Regions from separate parts of the Homo sapiens genome. Here region 1 is linked to region 2. Evidence: promoter capture Hi-C in 16 types of primary human blood cells and fetal thymus (Javierre and others, 2016). All regions are on one chromosome and are shown on one strand. Each heading gives the region's core, a stretch centred on a gene start or on the middle of the fragment in contact. The rest is flanking DNA. Distances are from core to core; before and after follow the strand shown.

Region 1 (3,119 bases), core at 15-2,514, 2.0 Mb after region 2:
ATCCCCCCACCTTAGCCTCCTGAGTAGCTGGGACTACAGGCACACACCACCACACCGGACTAATTTTTGTATTTTTGGTAGATACGGGATTTTGCCTTGATGTCCAGGCTTATCTCAAACTCCTGCTCCTGGGCACAAGAGATCCATAACCTTAGCCTCTCAAAGTTTGGAGATTACAGGCATGAGCCGCAGCACCTGGCCTCCCCTTTTTTTAAACATTTTTAGTTCAGGGGTGAATGTACAGGTTGGTTAGAGGTGACCATGTGTCATGGGGATTTGTCGTACAGATTATTTCACCATCCTAGTATTAAGCCTATTACTCATTAGTTATTTTTCCTGATCCTCTCACTCCTCCCAACCTTCTTAAAAAGAAGAAGATTGTTTCCTTTGCGGGGACATGGATGGAACTAGAGGCCATTATCCTTAACAAACTAATACAGGAACAGAAAACCAAATACCGCATGTTCTCACTTATAAGTGGGAGCTAAATAATGAGATCACATGGACACATAGATGGGAACAACACATACTGAGGCTAACCTTCTTTTCAATGGCTGCATAGTATTCCATGGTATATATGTACCACATTTTCTTTATCCATTCTATCATTAATTGGCATTTAGGTTGATTCCGTGTCTCCACTGTTGTGAATAGTGTTGCTAGAAGTATTCCCTGTCTTTCTTTCTAGCTTTCTCGTTCATCTTATCATCTCACAAACAATATATTCCATCTACACTCAACTACTGATGGCCCAATATCCCAACTTGCTGGTAATAATTGTAGTAATGACAGCTGGTACTCACTAGAGTATGCCATATGCAAACATCCTGATGCTAAATAAGGTATATCAAAATTCTAGGAGCTCAGTGATCAATGCCAAGCAAATGAGAAATGATAAAAATTAAGCAAACTACAAACCTAGGAGGTAGGTATTATATTTTCATTTTACAGATAATGAAACTGAGACTCAGGACATTAAATTCTGGCCCTGCCTGCAGAATGAATTACACTGTTTCTGTACAGGGTCAGTGTTGAGCATCTAACACAGCTCAGGATGGGCAAGAACAAATATAGTGGCATCTCAGGTTTCCAAGATTGACACCATTACTTTACTCTAAACTCTTTTCTTTTGCTTTCAATTCTAATTTCAAACCAGAGAACCTTAGCAGTATTAAAGAAAATGATGAGTCTCGCTATTCAAAGTGTGGTCCACAGACGGCAACAACAGCATTACCTGGGAGCTTGTTAGAAATGCAAAATAATCCTGCATCTTCTGAGTTAGAATCTGTATTTTAACAAACCCTCAGGTGATTAGCATGTACATTAAAGTTTGTTAAACACTAATTTGGAGACCTGAAAGATGTTCTAGTTATATTCAGTATTAAAAACCCTCTCTTTTTCCCCAAGTTCTGTCTGTGAAATATCACTTGCTAACATCTTTTACAAGGCTAACCTGGATTACAGCACTCCTTTGAGAGAAAATATACTAATTATTCAAACAGTAAAAATAAAATATTAGTATAAAAGTTAAGGAATGTTTCATTTTTATGGAAAAATAAATGAGGCAAACAGGTAGAAATCAGTTTTGTGGTTTAACAAACAATGTATTGCCTGACTGTAATTTTTTTTCTACTTTGTACTTTATTTTCCCTGAAATTCACTTCTATATTAAATCTAAACCTAGTCACATGTAGTTAACAGCAGATGGGTTCCTCAATCAAACTATTAGAAGAAAAGCAAGAAACTTTCTTTTGGACATCGGAACATAAATTCAAATAACTGAAAATCAGCTAAGAGGATTTTACCACAGAAGACAATGGGTATTATTTAAATATTTTCAACATCATTTTCTTTTCAAAGTAGATGGAATGTGAATTAAACTTCATTTTAACATCTAAATCATATCTTTTTCTTTCAAAGTGTCTGTGAAAAAAAAAAGTTCCTGCATGCATTATTTGTAATAGGGACATGCTCACCTATAAACTGATGTAAAACGTGTCCCTTTTTGGCTGTGACTGCCTAAGTAATGAGGCAATGGAGAGAGTAAAATTTCCCATTCCCACACCCGTCACAGGCACCAGCATTGACTTCACACAGGCTCTTCTTAACTGTGAACCTTTCCTGGGACTAAACATGCACAATGCATGAGATTGTATATTTGCTCTTCAATTCTTTAGTTTTTGTAAATAAAAATGTCCTGCAGCGTTTAGCTTTTGTTCATTTTAGATACAACTGTAAAAGTGGAAAATAACATAATTTCATTCAACTTATAGTAGGTTCTGCTTGCTGGAAAATAATACTGTTGTTCAATTGAATCAGTCCTTCAAAGTAATCAAACCAGCTAAGTTCCTAGAATATTCCATAAGAGTAAAATTGTTTTCTAATCTTCACTGAGATCCTATTCAATAAGGCCATTTTCTTATCAAACTATACATTTGAGAACAAAATATCACATTTTAACAGGTACTATAAACATTTTAATTCTGTTAGGGCCAAAATAATGATAAACATGGATAATAGTAATAATCTCTTTCCCCAAAGAGTCTTAGAAATCCTAATTTACTGACTGGTAGCTACTTTCACTAAGTAGAAATACAGTAATTTAATAATCTTACCATAGCAGTTTTCACAGAAGAAAATTAACTAATTCATTATTGCTTATAATTTGCTGAGGCATAGCTGCCATATTTGTAAAATCAGCAGGTTCTGAAAAAAAATACAAGTTTTTAAATGAATGTTCAATTTTCCCCTAAACACATAAATGATACAATTACTTAGCTCCCTCTAGTGCCAATTTCTAATATAAACTTAATTATAATAACTGTATTCACCATGCAATTTTGAAGCAAATTAAAATTTTACTTGGCAATAATTAAGTAAACTTTCAAGGGTTTTATAGGTTGAGTTTGAGATCAGAGCCAAGCAAGATTCACGGATGACACTGTCATAGGTAGGCTCATGACTACAGTTACAGTAACAGTATTTCTTCACAAATTTTATTTCATATGTTTCAATTAAACACAAATAAACCAATAGAGTGTAAAAGAATGTTGATAAAAGAAATTAAGGCTTGCCATTGAATATTTTTCTACACGTCAATTTAGCTATAACAATCTCAC
Region 2 (3,006 bases), core at 457-2,956:
ACTGACGTGTTACGCCTCTTCTAATGACATTTTTTTCTTTTTCTTTTCTGTAGGAGAGAGACGAGAGACCCTGAAACACGCGCCACCTATCTTTGTGGGGAGGGATAATTGAAGCGCCCTGAGCGTGAGCATCATGTGAAAACGTGATCGCCAAGTTTCTCTCTGGGAAAGGATCTGGGATAGATTATACCTTGAAGTCTCCGCAAACGCTTTAGTGGAAGAAATGAAATTCCACCTCCCTCCCTTCCTCCTCTCCCTCCCTTTCGCCTTCGCCTCCCTCCCCCCTCCCTCCCTTCTCCCCCCCTCCACCCCCCCCTCCCCGCCCGTCAAGCCTTTGGCATCATTATCCTCATCACTAAATCCTACAGAGTACAGGGCGGAAAACGGTGCACACCATTCACAGAACTGGAGAACTCCAAGGGGCGAAAGTTAAAGGGAAAGATCCCGGGTCCTCAATCCAGATAGTCTCTTCTTATACAGATATCTCTAATGACCAGATTTGAGATGCACATCAAATTGTGTAGGTATCTCAGTACAGCTTCTGGAACAAAGTTCTCTGCCCTTTCTCTTATTGTTATTTTTTTCTTTTTAGGTACCAGAGCCAGAAAAAAAAATGCTGCATGGGAGCTGCATCTTAGGGCATGTGTATTAGGGTGTGTGCATGATGAATTTCTGGACTGGATCCCAATATTAAAAAGTAGTTTGGCATTTTAATAAAGGGTCTCTAAGTAAATTAAAATAGAACACTCGGTTGGCCGATCTCTGAATCTCTCTACACCTCGGGGAGACCTCACTACAAAGTAAGGGAGAGTGTGTAGGGAGGCAGGAGGAGAAACGAGAAAGGCCATAGAGAAACTTAGCAGGGAAGGGAGAGCATGATATTAAACGGCATGGGGTCTAAGTTTTGGAGTATATATTTTTTGATATTACAATTAAAGTAAGATTAAAAAGAAAAGACTCCACCTTTGCTCTGAAGGGATTGGTTATGCAAATATGGAAGGGATTTCCTGGAGAATACAGCTTTCTACTGTATGGTTAATTAAATAATCACTCAAAAGCTTCCAACGTGACGCTTCTGTCGTAATCCAATCAGGTTACATAGGTCCTAAACAAGAAAGATATTTTCCACATCTGGAAGTCAGCAATTTAGCAAGTACTGCACATTATTAACCAATTCAGAGCCCACTTCCCAGGGGAATTTTTTTGAAGTTTAAGTGTTCTTAACCAATGCTCTGCTGTTTTGTTAATCAAAAAGCTGGTTTACACTGCACATAATTGGAACTAATATAGAAGTAAATAAAGACAGCCAAATTTGAGGATGCTGAGCACAGGCATTTATCGGAAAAGGAAGAAATCTCCTATCCTCGGATGGTTCAGGCTCAATTTCTTAAATAACTGTGAGACTTTTTTTTTTTTCCTAAAGAGTGAAAGTGCTTGAGAACCTCAGAGCACAAATAAACTTCTAGCCTCACAGCATTTAGGATTCTTCGGAAAGGTAAAGGTGGAGGTGTTAAGAGGACCAGAGAGCTGCCTCACACCAATTTTTAAGCTTTAATATTGTTAAATATGTTACACCCTCCTGTTTCCAGTCTGATGAAATCTGAAACAAATAATACCCTGATCCAACACTATATTAAGATAAACTGCTTTGAACTGTGCTTTGAATGTGTGCCTAAAGCAAGACTTTGAATGCAAGAGTCACTGGCAATTGCACTCAAAGGAGGGACAAGCCACCACATGGGTTGCCACATCCACACTCCCAGAGGTATACGTCTTTGTATTTTGTATTTTTTTTTGCGGGGCGGGGGAGTGGGGTGGGGGTGGTTAATAGCTACCTAGCACGACCACAGCTAGATCTTGTTCTAGGATGCAAGAAAGTAGATTTTCACAGTTGGTTACTCACCTCTTTCCTAATTTAAGTATTTATTATAATGAAAATAGCTGCTGGATAAATTAACTCTCTCCCCCCACCCCATCACAGATAAAGTGTCTATAGAAGAAAGGCATTCAGGATCTTCAGCTTAAAAATTATTAATAAATAAAATCAAAGATTTTCAACATGGGTCAGGCACATTCTTAATTTTATATTTTACATTTCTTTCATTATTATATATCTATACTAAATATATGTGTGACTTATCAAGTTCCTCTTCTGAGATTTAGCACCACTGTTCATGTCCATTTTTCTTCCTCTTCCTTTTTTTCCTCTTTTTTAATTTAAAAGATTGGAATCCAGCTTTCTCTAGACGTTTGCTTTACAGCCACCCTTCCACCACTCCTAAGGAAGAAGGAGCCCTTTGCATAGAGTTATTACAGGCAAGACTCCTCTTCAGGCACCCAGGTAGCCATTGGAGGCTTACAGACCAGACACACACACAAGCATAACCTCAGGTCAAAGGATCCAATCGAATAGCTAACAAAACACTTGTCTTTATTATGTATATTAAATGTCAGGTTACTTAGGATCTGACTTAAAAAAAAAAAAAAAAACCCTAAGTATTTCCATTAAAAACACCTAATCATCTGATTACCCTGGACTCAGGAATTGCTCAAGTGGCAGGAGGCAGTCCCCAACATTTATCACTGGGAGTTCCGACTAGCCAGTATTTGATTTGGGGTGAAAAAGCAGTCTTCCAGGTTCCCATGAAGGTAGATATTTGGATGGTGGCACGGGAAGGGTCTCCGCGAGGGGTGAGCGCTGCGGCTAGGTTGCCTTGCCCCTGGTTCCTGACTGGCACGCCCCTCCCCAGGCATTTGGCCGAGAGAGTTCCCAACGTGGCAGAGGTGATGGGGTCGGGAGGAAGCCGGAATATAAATTTGTTCCGAACACTCCCTCAGTCCGAGGGCCAGTTCGGGGACAATGGGGATCGTGGGATCAGGAGGATGCAGGAGCACAGGACGCAGAGAAAAGTCGAGAGAGGACTGGGGGCTGCTGGCTTTCGGCTCCTCACACAGCAAAATAAGTCCTGCAAATGAATCTCTCCTTCTCTGTCTTCCCCATTAATA

The links. The method cuts DNA at HindIII sites, captures the fragments that hold promoters and counts their contacts. A CHiCAGO score of 5 or more calls a contact.
Region 1: a fragment that was not itself captured here is called in contact with the fragment with the promoter of LINC01412 in region 2 in 1 of 17 cell types (megakaryocytes); the score reaches 5.1 in megakaryocytes.

Annotation. Positions count from the first base shown.
Region 1 is chr2:146,520,635-146,523,753 of GRCh38, forward strand. No RefSeq gene overlaps it. Among named protein-coding and RNA genes, the nearest start is that of LINC01911, 320 kb to the right of the region's middle. The HindIII fragment of the contact is 3,849 bases long and covers 1-3,119 here.
Region 2 is chr2:144,520,162-144,523,167 of GRCh38, forward strand. It overlaps LINC01412 (long intergenic non-protein coding RNA 1412), which reads left to right and starts at 1,707. Exons shown (of 3, transcript NR_110570.1): 1 at 1,707-1,765. It overlaps ZEB2-AS1 (ZEB2 antisense RNA 1), which reads left to right. Exons shown (of 4, transcript NR_040248.2): 3 at 54-124; 4 at 593-738. The HindIII fragment of the contact is 4,746 bases long and covers 1,548-3,006 here.